Linked DNA regions of Homo sapiens: regions 2 and 3 are each linked to region 1. The links are contacts of gene promoters, found by promoter capture Hi-C in blood cells and fetal thymus (Javierre and others, 2016). All regions are on one chromosome and are shown on one strand. The core of a region is centred on a gene start or on the middle of the fragment in contact, and the rest is flanking DNA. Distances in the headings are between cores, read along the strand shown. Region 1 holds the start of GTSF1 (gametocyte specific factor 1). Region 2 holds the start of NFE2 (nuclear factor, erythroid 2). Region 3 overlaps CBX5 (chromobox 5).

Evidence for each region. The method cuts DNA at HindIII sites, captures the fragments that hold promoters and counts their contacts. A CHiCAGO score of 5 or more calls a contact.
Region 2: a contact is called between the fragment with the promoter of NFE2 here and the fragment with the promoter of GTSF1 in region 1, in 14 of 17 cell types (naive CD8 T cells, M1 macrophages, monocytes and 11 more). The highest score is 18.2, in naive CD8 T cells.
Region 3: a contact is called between a fragment that was not itself captured here and the fragment with the promoter of GTSF1 in region 1, in 1 of 17 cell types (neutrophils). The highest score is 5.5, in neutrophils.

Annotation. Positions count from the first base shown.
Region 1 is chr12:54,472,244-54,474,943 of GRCh38, reverse strand. It overlaps GTSF1 (gametocyte specific factor 1), which reads left to right and starts at 1,342. Exons shown (of 9, transcript NM_144594.3): 1 at 1,342-1,398. RefSeq lists enhancers at 1,014-1,073, 739-1,265. The HindIII fragment of the contact is 3,434 bases long and covers 1-2,587 here.
Region 2 is chr12:54,299,707-54,302,549 of GRCh38, reverse strand. NFE2 (nuclear factor, erythroid 2) reads left to right here and starts at 1,535. Exons shown (of 3, transcript NM_001136023.3): 1 at 1,535-1,749. RefSeq lists an enhancer at 648-1,388 and a cis regulatory region at 789-1,763. The HindIII fragment of the contact is 10,882 bases long and covers 1-2,843 here.
Region 3 is chr12:54,237,304-54,240,096 of GRCh38, reverse strand. It overlaps CBX5 (chromobox 5), which reads left to right. Exons shown (of 5, transcript NM_012117.3): 5 at 1-2,793. Among named protein-coding and RNA genes, the nearest start is that of MIR3198-2, 7.2 kb to the right of the region's middle. The HindIII fragment of the contact is 2,130 bases long and covers 336-2,465 here.

The DNA.
Region 1 (2,700 bases), core at 93-2,592:
GCTCTACACCACTGAAATGCTGTAGAAATCCCAATATTTCACTGCCCAGACTAATCACCCAGACTGCCTCCTACATCTTGAACAGCACAGAATGTTTTGTCATATCTTTTACTTCTTGGTTTTGAAAAATATTACCACCAGATCTACTTGTAGTGTCAACACCTTCCTTTTTTTGTCTAACCTTCAAAGGCTACAAGTCCCTTTTCTCTATAATGCCTTCCCAGGTCATTTCAGGCCCCATTAATTTTTTTCCTTACAGGAATTTACAGTCTCTACCACTTTTTTTGGCATTTTTTGTACTGCTATTAAACCTTTCATCCACTTTGGGAGTCGTTTTTCTAAGCACTCTGGGGACAAGAACTGCAGCTTACACTTTTTTTCCCCAGAACAAAGCCTCACACTACGTTTGGTTTTCCCTTAACAAGTTGTAACCTTCCGGCCTTCTTGTCCTCTCCAACTCTTCATTGAGCTCTCTCCCCAACTCTAAAACTCGCTTTCATCAGGCAGCAACAACCATCATCCTACCAAGCATTCTCAGATAGTTAGTGCCTTTTGAATTTTGGGATTTTACAACACATTCTAAACAAGAACAGCCAGACACAAAATTCCTGTCCTTGGTGATTGTTTTGTGGCTGCACTGCGTATCTCCTTTATAATTCCTCTTCTCTTCCCTCAAAATCTAAATTACCTTTCTATCTAGACAACTTCCACAAACAAGGCTTCTTTCTAGGCAGCTCCCCACCTCTAACCAGTTCCATCAGTCCCATTCCCTCAGGCGCCATTTTTTTTTTTTTTTTTTTTTTTTTCCTGAGACGGAGTCTCACTCTGCCGCCCAGGCTGGAGTGCAGTGGTGCAATCTCGGCTCACTGCAGCCTCCGCCTCCCGGGTTCAAGCAATTCTCCTGCCTCAGCCTCCCAAGTAGCTGGGATTACAGGCGCCCGCCACCACACCCAGCTAATTTTTGTATTTTTAGTAGAGACGAGGTTTCACCATGTTGGCCAGGCTGGTCTTGAACTCCTGAGGTAATCGCAGGTGCCCATTTCTAAGTGCTCATCTGCCTTTTCTAAGATGGCCGCCACAAAACCCAGGGAAAGAAATGCGAGTTCTACCCTCTCAAGGCCACTGTTGTTCTGGGGGCCAGGGGAGGATGGCCCCAAAGATGGGGTGCCCAAGGAGGAGATCCTCGTGGGAAAGGGTCATCAGGGAGCTGACCCTAGGGGCTCACAGGTGAACTCCACAGCTGATCCACCCTGCCCCACACTCAGCCAGAACCGAGACTCCCAGTCACAGGAAGTGCCGGCCCCTCGCCCCACCTCCCAACGTTAGGCGCCGGAAGTGGCCGTTGCTGGGGCTTGCGTGGGAGGAAGGTGACTGTGAGGAAGGTGTGTGTCCACCGAGGTAAGGAAAGGCACCCCGGGGCGCCTCTAAGCAATTCCTATTTTGCGTACCGGGATACCTTCACCTTCTAATATCCTCATTTCGCTTTTCTGCTGGTAGCCTTCAGCCTTGTGGGCTCTCAATGCAGCTATTTTGGCTACCAACCTGTTTCGCTGCATTGCCCACTCGAGGGCCTCCTTGGCGCCTTTTCTATGTTTTTTTTAAGTTAACCACCTCCCCCACTTTCTCTTATTTAGTCTCATTGATTAAGTCTACTGTGATTTTGTTGTTGTTGTTGTTGTTTAAAGGAAGAAAAATGATTCTTTTACTAAGGCCGGAATTCTGTTAAGCGTTTAACCAGTAGCCGCCGACTACATCCATACCCTAAACTTGATTGCTTCCGGCGTAGCTTGTCTATTTCACCGTGATCTAGTAGTAGGGAAAAGGTAAAGAATCCCGTTAACAGTTTGATGCGGAAGATACTTAAAACAGACACGGCTAAGTGATGGTACTGTGAATTCCAGTGCCCCTAGTGTACTGTAATTCGTCCTTTTGTCCGGGAAGAATAGGTTGGCTTCCTACAAGCTGCTGAATCTGGTGCTCATCACTTAAAATCAAGAAACATACTTGGTTCTTCCTTCCAAAACTCTTATTTTTAATGAAAAAGTATGAAGTAACTATGTATAAGTGAAATATATACAAAAAGACGGTGGGGATTTCTTGATCCAAACATAAATATGAAAAATATTTTTAAGACAAATTCACTAATGATTGTCATTAACAAATGGGCTCAGTAGCAAAAAAACTAGAGTTCTAGCTGATCACTTGTATTTCCTATCATAGGTTCTAACGCTGCTTATGTCACAGAATGGGGGGAGGGGTGGTGAGGAGTGTAGAATTGTGTGAGGGGCCAAAGGAGAGCATGCTCTAGAGACAGACAATTTTCAGAAGTTTCGTATGGGGATGGTTTTATATAAATTCAGGTTTTTCCCACAATAATAAATGTATTTAGTCTCAGTGCTCAATAGAAGAGATTTCTAATAGAAAAGGATTCAAACTGTGAAACCATTTCTCTTTTAATGTTTCACATTCCTGTTACAGATTTGTTCTCTTGTGACTCTGTTATCCATAATATGGACAGTTCTTGAGTCCTAACATTGAGAGGTTTTCCCTTAGTGCATAGAGGGAATGAGTATTAATTGGAGAAGCTTAAAGTATTGCCACTTTAGCACTGAAGATTGGGATGAGAGGAGGTGAAACCTCACTAGAAAAAGGGACAATGTTAGTGTGGCCCTTCCTGATCATGTTTAAGAAAAGTCATGA
Region 2 (2,843 bases), core at 286-2,785, 170 kb after region 1:
AATTCCAGCAGAAGCAGGCAGCACAGGAGGCTCCTTATGGTACCAGCATTGCCTCTTTACTTCCATGGTTGTGTTGCTGGGTTGTTGGGGATCTTAGAGGAGAACTAGGCTATTGGTGGAGTCGTGGGGGACACTTAGAGGGCTCACAGCAGCTGCCTTTTATCAACTAGGACTGAACATTTTCATTATTTTAACAGCAAATACAATCCCATCAGAGCATGCTGGTTGAATGCCAGTCCTACTCCAGAGTGGCACCTATCTGCTTCCCCAGTCTTCAGATGTTTCTAATTTAACTTGAACATTGTAAGAAGAAAAAATGTAAGCTGCAGATGTCAGGATTGAAGCTAGACATATAGAGCTGAAAGCCATTACAAATTAGGAGGAAGAAAGGCTCTTTTCTCACAGTCTGTGGAGAAAGATGTTTGACCTGGGGCTTTGGTGGTGTAGCTTGCAGGCAAAAAGATGAATAAGTGGGCTGGGTGAGGTGGCTCATGCCTGTAATCCCAGCACTTTGGGAGGCCAAGAGGGGAGGATTGCTTGAGCCCAAGAATTCAATACCAGCCAAGGCAATATAGTGAGACACCACTTCTACCAAAAAAAAAAAAAAAAAAAAAAATTAGCTGGGCATGGTTGCACTGACCCATAGAACCAGCTACTTGGGAGGCTGAGGTGGGAGGATTGCTTAAGCCTGGGAGTTTGAGACTGTAGTGAAACATGTTCACACCACTGCACTCCAGCCTGGGAGACAGAGTGAGCCCCTCTCTGGAAAAAAAAAAAAAAAAAGATGAATAAGGGTACTTACTGGCCTAACAGAGTTGGGTGCCATGTGGCTGGGGTGCTTTGCCTGGGAGAAAGGAGGACAAAGGACACCTGGGGTCCCCTTTACGGGAGGTGAATAATCTCCCTGCTGGGTGGCCCCCCACCTAACTCCCTTCACACACTGACAAAAACCTGGCCAAGAAAGAATCCTTTGTCCTGGGACTTCTGAGGCTGAGGGGGGAGGGGAGAAGGCTACAGGTGAAAGGACACATCAAAGCAGTCAGTTGCCCCTCCTCCTCCAAATAGTTCCCCTGCCCTTGTTCCCAGAGCCCAGGTTTTCTGTAAATGAAGGCTATACCCTAAACGTCCAACTGCCTAGACAGCTGGGAAGCTAGACACCTGGTCCTTACCTTCAGCTGCCTTCCACCTTGATATGACTCAGTTTCCCTGTCCCTAGGAGAGCCGTGGGGACACAAGGCGACGACAACCTGTATAAAGTTTAAAGGTCACATTCGAGTGGACCATCAGGTTGGAATTCGTCAAATGCATGGGAGAAACGCAGACCTGGCTGGACTCCTGGGCTGAAAAGGAGGGCTGGGAGAGGCTTGGAGCCATGTGTGCCCCCGCTGGCCAGGAGCAAGGTGGGGGCGGGGTGTGGGCAGAAACCACATCGGGCTCAAGTTTCCTCTCTTGGCCGAAAGGGGCAGGAGGAGAGGAGAGCCACGGGGAAAGGGGAGGGTTGGAGGAAGGACTGAGAACTCAGGCCGAGGGCTTCAGACGCTGGTGCGCCTGCTTGGGGCTCCTGTGCTCAGCTCAGCCTGAGCTTCCACACTCAGCGCTCAGCAATGGCCCGGGGGCGGGGCGCGGTCCTCGCAGATTCTCAAAGGTAGCCGGGATCCTCGTCCAGCAGTGTCAGCTCAGGCTCAGCCTCCCCAGAGACAACACCGGGAGCCTCATCTCTCTCCTCACCCTGCTGTGACTCCACCACAGGTGCCTGAAAGGCAGGGTGTGTGTGGGGGGGGCGGATTCCAGTGAGATCCGAGGGGCAGGCTGGGGGGTGAAGGAGGTGAGGGGGGAAAATAACCAACTTTCGGTATCCTAGGAGACCTCAGACTTTCTAGATTGCCCCTGGTTTAGGAATCTGACATATTTGGGAACTCCTCTAGGAGAAGACCTAAGTGGTTTCTTGGGTGCTCTGGGATCCTTGGGGTGGAGGCTGTGAATGGGGATCAGAGAGGGGTCTCCAGAGGCAAGGCACCGCTGAGGGGCTGGGGAGTAGCCAGGAGGAATCCTTCAACTGGTGGGCTACCCTGAGGGAACCAATAGACTACCCTTTCCCCAACTCCATTCCATTACTCTGCCCTGTCTAGGCAGCTGAGAAGGTTTAGGGAAAGCTGAGGAATTGGAAACACTGGATATCTGAACCTCTGAGAAGTGTTGCAAGGTGCGGGGGTTGGATGGGAGATTGCCTCTGGGTTGTTGGCTCCTTTGCCCTTTCTCTTCTCTGTGCCCAGGGGCAGTAGAGATCAGCTGGACCTGGAGGGAGAAGGAAGACATCCCAACCCCAGCATAGTTGCTTCTAACTGGAACTCTTGGCTGCTTGGGAAATAGGGGCTTGGGAAGCAGTGGAAGAGAAGAGAGGAGGTATCAGAACTGCTGGGGCTGGGATCCCCTAGACATCGGTACCAAAGGACTGGAGTTTGGGGTCCAGGGATGAAGTGACACAATAGCAGAAACTCGTCCCCCTCTTCTTTGTTCTCACACATTTGTTTGAGTCATGCATGTCCCTAGGGCACTGAGCTCACTATGCTTAAATCTCTCTCCCTCCTTTTTTTCCCCTTCATTCTGTCTCATCTCTGTGTGTCTCTCTCTCTTCGGGAGTTCTCCCTAATCTTTCTAAATAGGTTGCTTACCGGTTAACCAATACCCCAAGTTTTACTAATCCCTCCTCATCCTTTCACTGCACCTATTGACACCTGGAGAGGTGAGGTGGTCAAATAAGCCTCAGAAAAGGGATCCTGAGGCAAGCCCCCTCTCATCGTTCCCCCTCGTTAAGGAAGTTAAGAGCCCTGGGGCAGCAGCTA
Region 3 (2,793 bases), core at 151-2,650, 230 kb after region 1:
AATGCTTAATATAGCCTTAATTCTAGAGCGCACCAGCCATGAGGCTGCTTTTCTTGTTGTTTTTGATTTTTAAAACATACAGCTGTCTGGCCAGGAGCATCTACCATTTCTAGATTATTCAGAGTAATGAGGGGAATGGATGGATTGCTCCAGTCCACAGATGAGCCACATAATATGCAAATCATATACCCATTCATAGCATTTGTTAACATTGCTTCCCTGCTCAGCTGCTGATTGAATTCTGTGTGCTTATATAAATTATGTCAAAAATTATACTGCATAATTGAGGTGACAGCTGTTGCTGCAGTGACATGACAGACTGGAACAATGAAGCTTTTGGTTTAAGTCAGCCAGGAAAATCCTTCTGAATGGTAATGTGATTGGGCAAGAGCTCATAAACCATACCTCAAGTGGGTGGGAGTTTTATCTCTATATTCCTTCTCTCTCTGAAGGAATTAAAGGCCTAGATCAAGTGCTGGATAATTGACAATTGCTTGTACTTAATCTGATCGGTATCTAAAAGAAGGAAAGGATGGTCAGGAAACATTTATCATAAATGTAGCCAAGGATATCAATTAGGGTAGACAAGAATAGGACAAAAATAGGCCAGAGCTCCTGAGGAGGTGATATGGGTCTCTTGATTTGCAGAAAATGACAGCCTATCCAAGTGGCCCAGTGTATGCCTCCCAGTAGCAGTGGGCATGTAAACTGCAGCGACCTTATTTTTAAAACCAAAAACCTAGTATGTGGACAAAGAACATGACAATATTTGGTACTGAGATTGGTTCTGAGAAACCTGGGGCATGTGGCTGCTGTGGTTATAGGTAATATTTAAGACATTCATAAAAATCTGATATTCTTTTACCGAAATAACCCCAGTATCATCTACTACTTACCATCTGTTAATAGACTTTACTCTGTCTTTTTTGTCTTCGGTTTATTGTACTGAGTGCCGCCAAAACAACTTTTGTTCTCTTCCTGCCTACCTGCAGCTGGTTCTATAGGAATGTAGGGAGCCAGAGGCCAGTATTGATTTCAGCCCTTAGCACAAAGGAAATCAGATGCCTGCTTCCAGCATTTGTTAGTGTTGAGTAGATGTTCTTGCCCTAGAAGAATTACAGCCTCAAACAGAAACCTGTTTCATGGAGCTTTCTCCCCTCAGAAGAGTTAATAGTTAAGAGCTAAGCACTCTTAAACACCTAAGTCTCAAATGCTAAAAATTTATTTTTCTTGTGTTTAGTCCTCTTTCAAGACATCTTTCTAAGCCTTTCAGTAATCAACATTAAAAGATCTCCCTTTCTTCAGAGTTATAGCACAGCTTTGCCCAGTAGAGGCTACCAAGGACAGCTTAGCAGCCCTTTGATTGCTGGGCTGGGCAGATGGCCTTCAAGTTAAGATCAAATGCCGGGAAAATCAGCCTACATGGGAGCACCCATTTTAAACCTGGAGAGAACCATGATGTTTTCTTCTTCAAATAACAATCTAGTTTTTTTTCCCCCAGTACTAAAATTGTATTGTCTTTCAGACAATATAATTTTTATTTAAAATTGGAACATACTATCTTCATGCTTTCTAAGCTAAATCTTCATTTAGATTTCACTCCTCAGTAGATCCCAGAGAAGAAGCTATATAGGATCCAGATTCAAATTTAACAGTGTCTTCTACTTTTTTAGTTATGTTTTCTATCAACTCCTGCTGCCTTTTCAAATACGGATATTTTTCAGGAGACTCTTCTACTTGTCCACTGACTGTATTTTTTCCTTTTTGATCCGTAGCCCTGGTTAAATGGCTGACATCCTTCCGTGGATGATTCTTGGAGGTAGTCTCAGAATTCCAAAGTGATTGTCTGTCTTCTTCTTGTCTTGATCCTAATGCAGACATTCACCTCTATTATTTATTTATTTTTTTTAGACAGAGTCTCGCTCTGTCACCAGGCTGGAGTGCAGTGGCACAATCTTGGCTTACTGTACCCTCCACCTCCTGGGTTCAAGCGATTCTCCTGCCTCAGCCTCTCGAGTAGCTGGGACTACAGGTGTGTGCCACCATGCCCAGCTAATTTTTGTATTTTTGGTAGAGATGGGGTTTTACCATGTTTGCCAGGATGGTCTCGATTTCCTGACCTTGTGATCTGCCCACCTTGGCCTCCCAAAGTGCTGGAATTACAGGCATGAGCCACCGTGCCTGGCCACCTCTATTAAATTTTTGTGGACAAAAATAAAATTGTCATTATTTGTTTGCTCTCATGGAGCACTTTCAGTAATACAATTTTTTTTAAATTCCAGTTGCCCTCTTTGTTGCTCTGTCCTCTGTAATACCTGACTTTGCTAAAGACTTGAGGGGTGGTTTCAGAGGAGGGTCAGGTGATGGGAAGGCAGGATGAGAAAAGCCCTGGACTTGCATGTTTGAGAAGGCTTCCAACCACATCTTCACTCAGACTCTTGGAATTCCTGTCCCCAAAACAAGCTTCTGTTTTTTGCTCACAATGCTATATTTCTAAATTTTTCCTGAATTACTGAGAAGCAGTCATTAGCTTTGTTAAGTTTGGTTTGGGGACATTGTTGGTATCAAAAATCGAAGTCTTATTCATTTGATGTAGGCCATGAATCATCAATAACTGGTTGCTGGAAAGCTTGACTACCATCCACTGGGGTGCTATTTTGAGAAGGATTTTTGGGTATCTTTATAGTCTGCAATTAGTTGATGATTGCTTTCTAGTTTATCAACTGCATTTATATTTGCTTTTCTGTTCATGGAAAATCCTTTATTTGCTGGGGTTTTTTGTTTGTTTGTTTG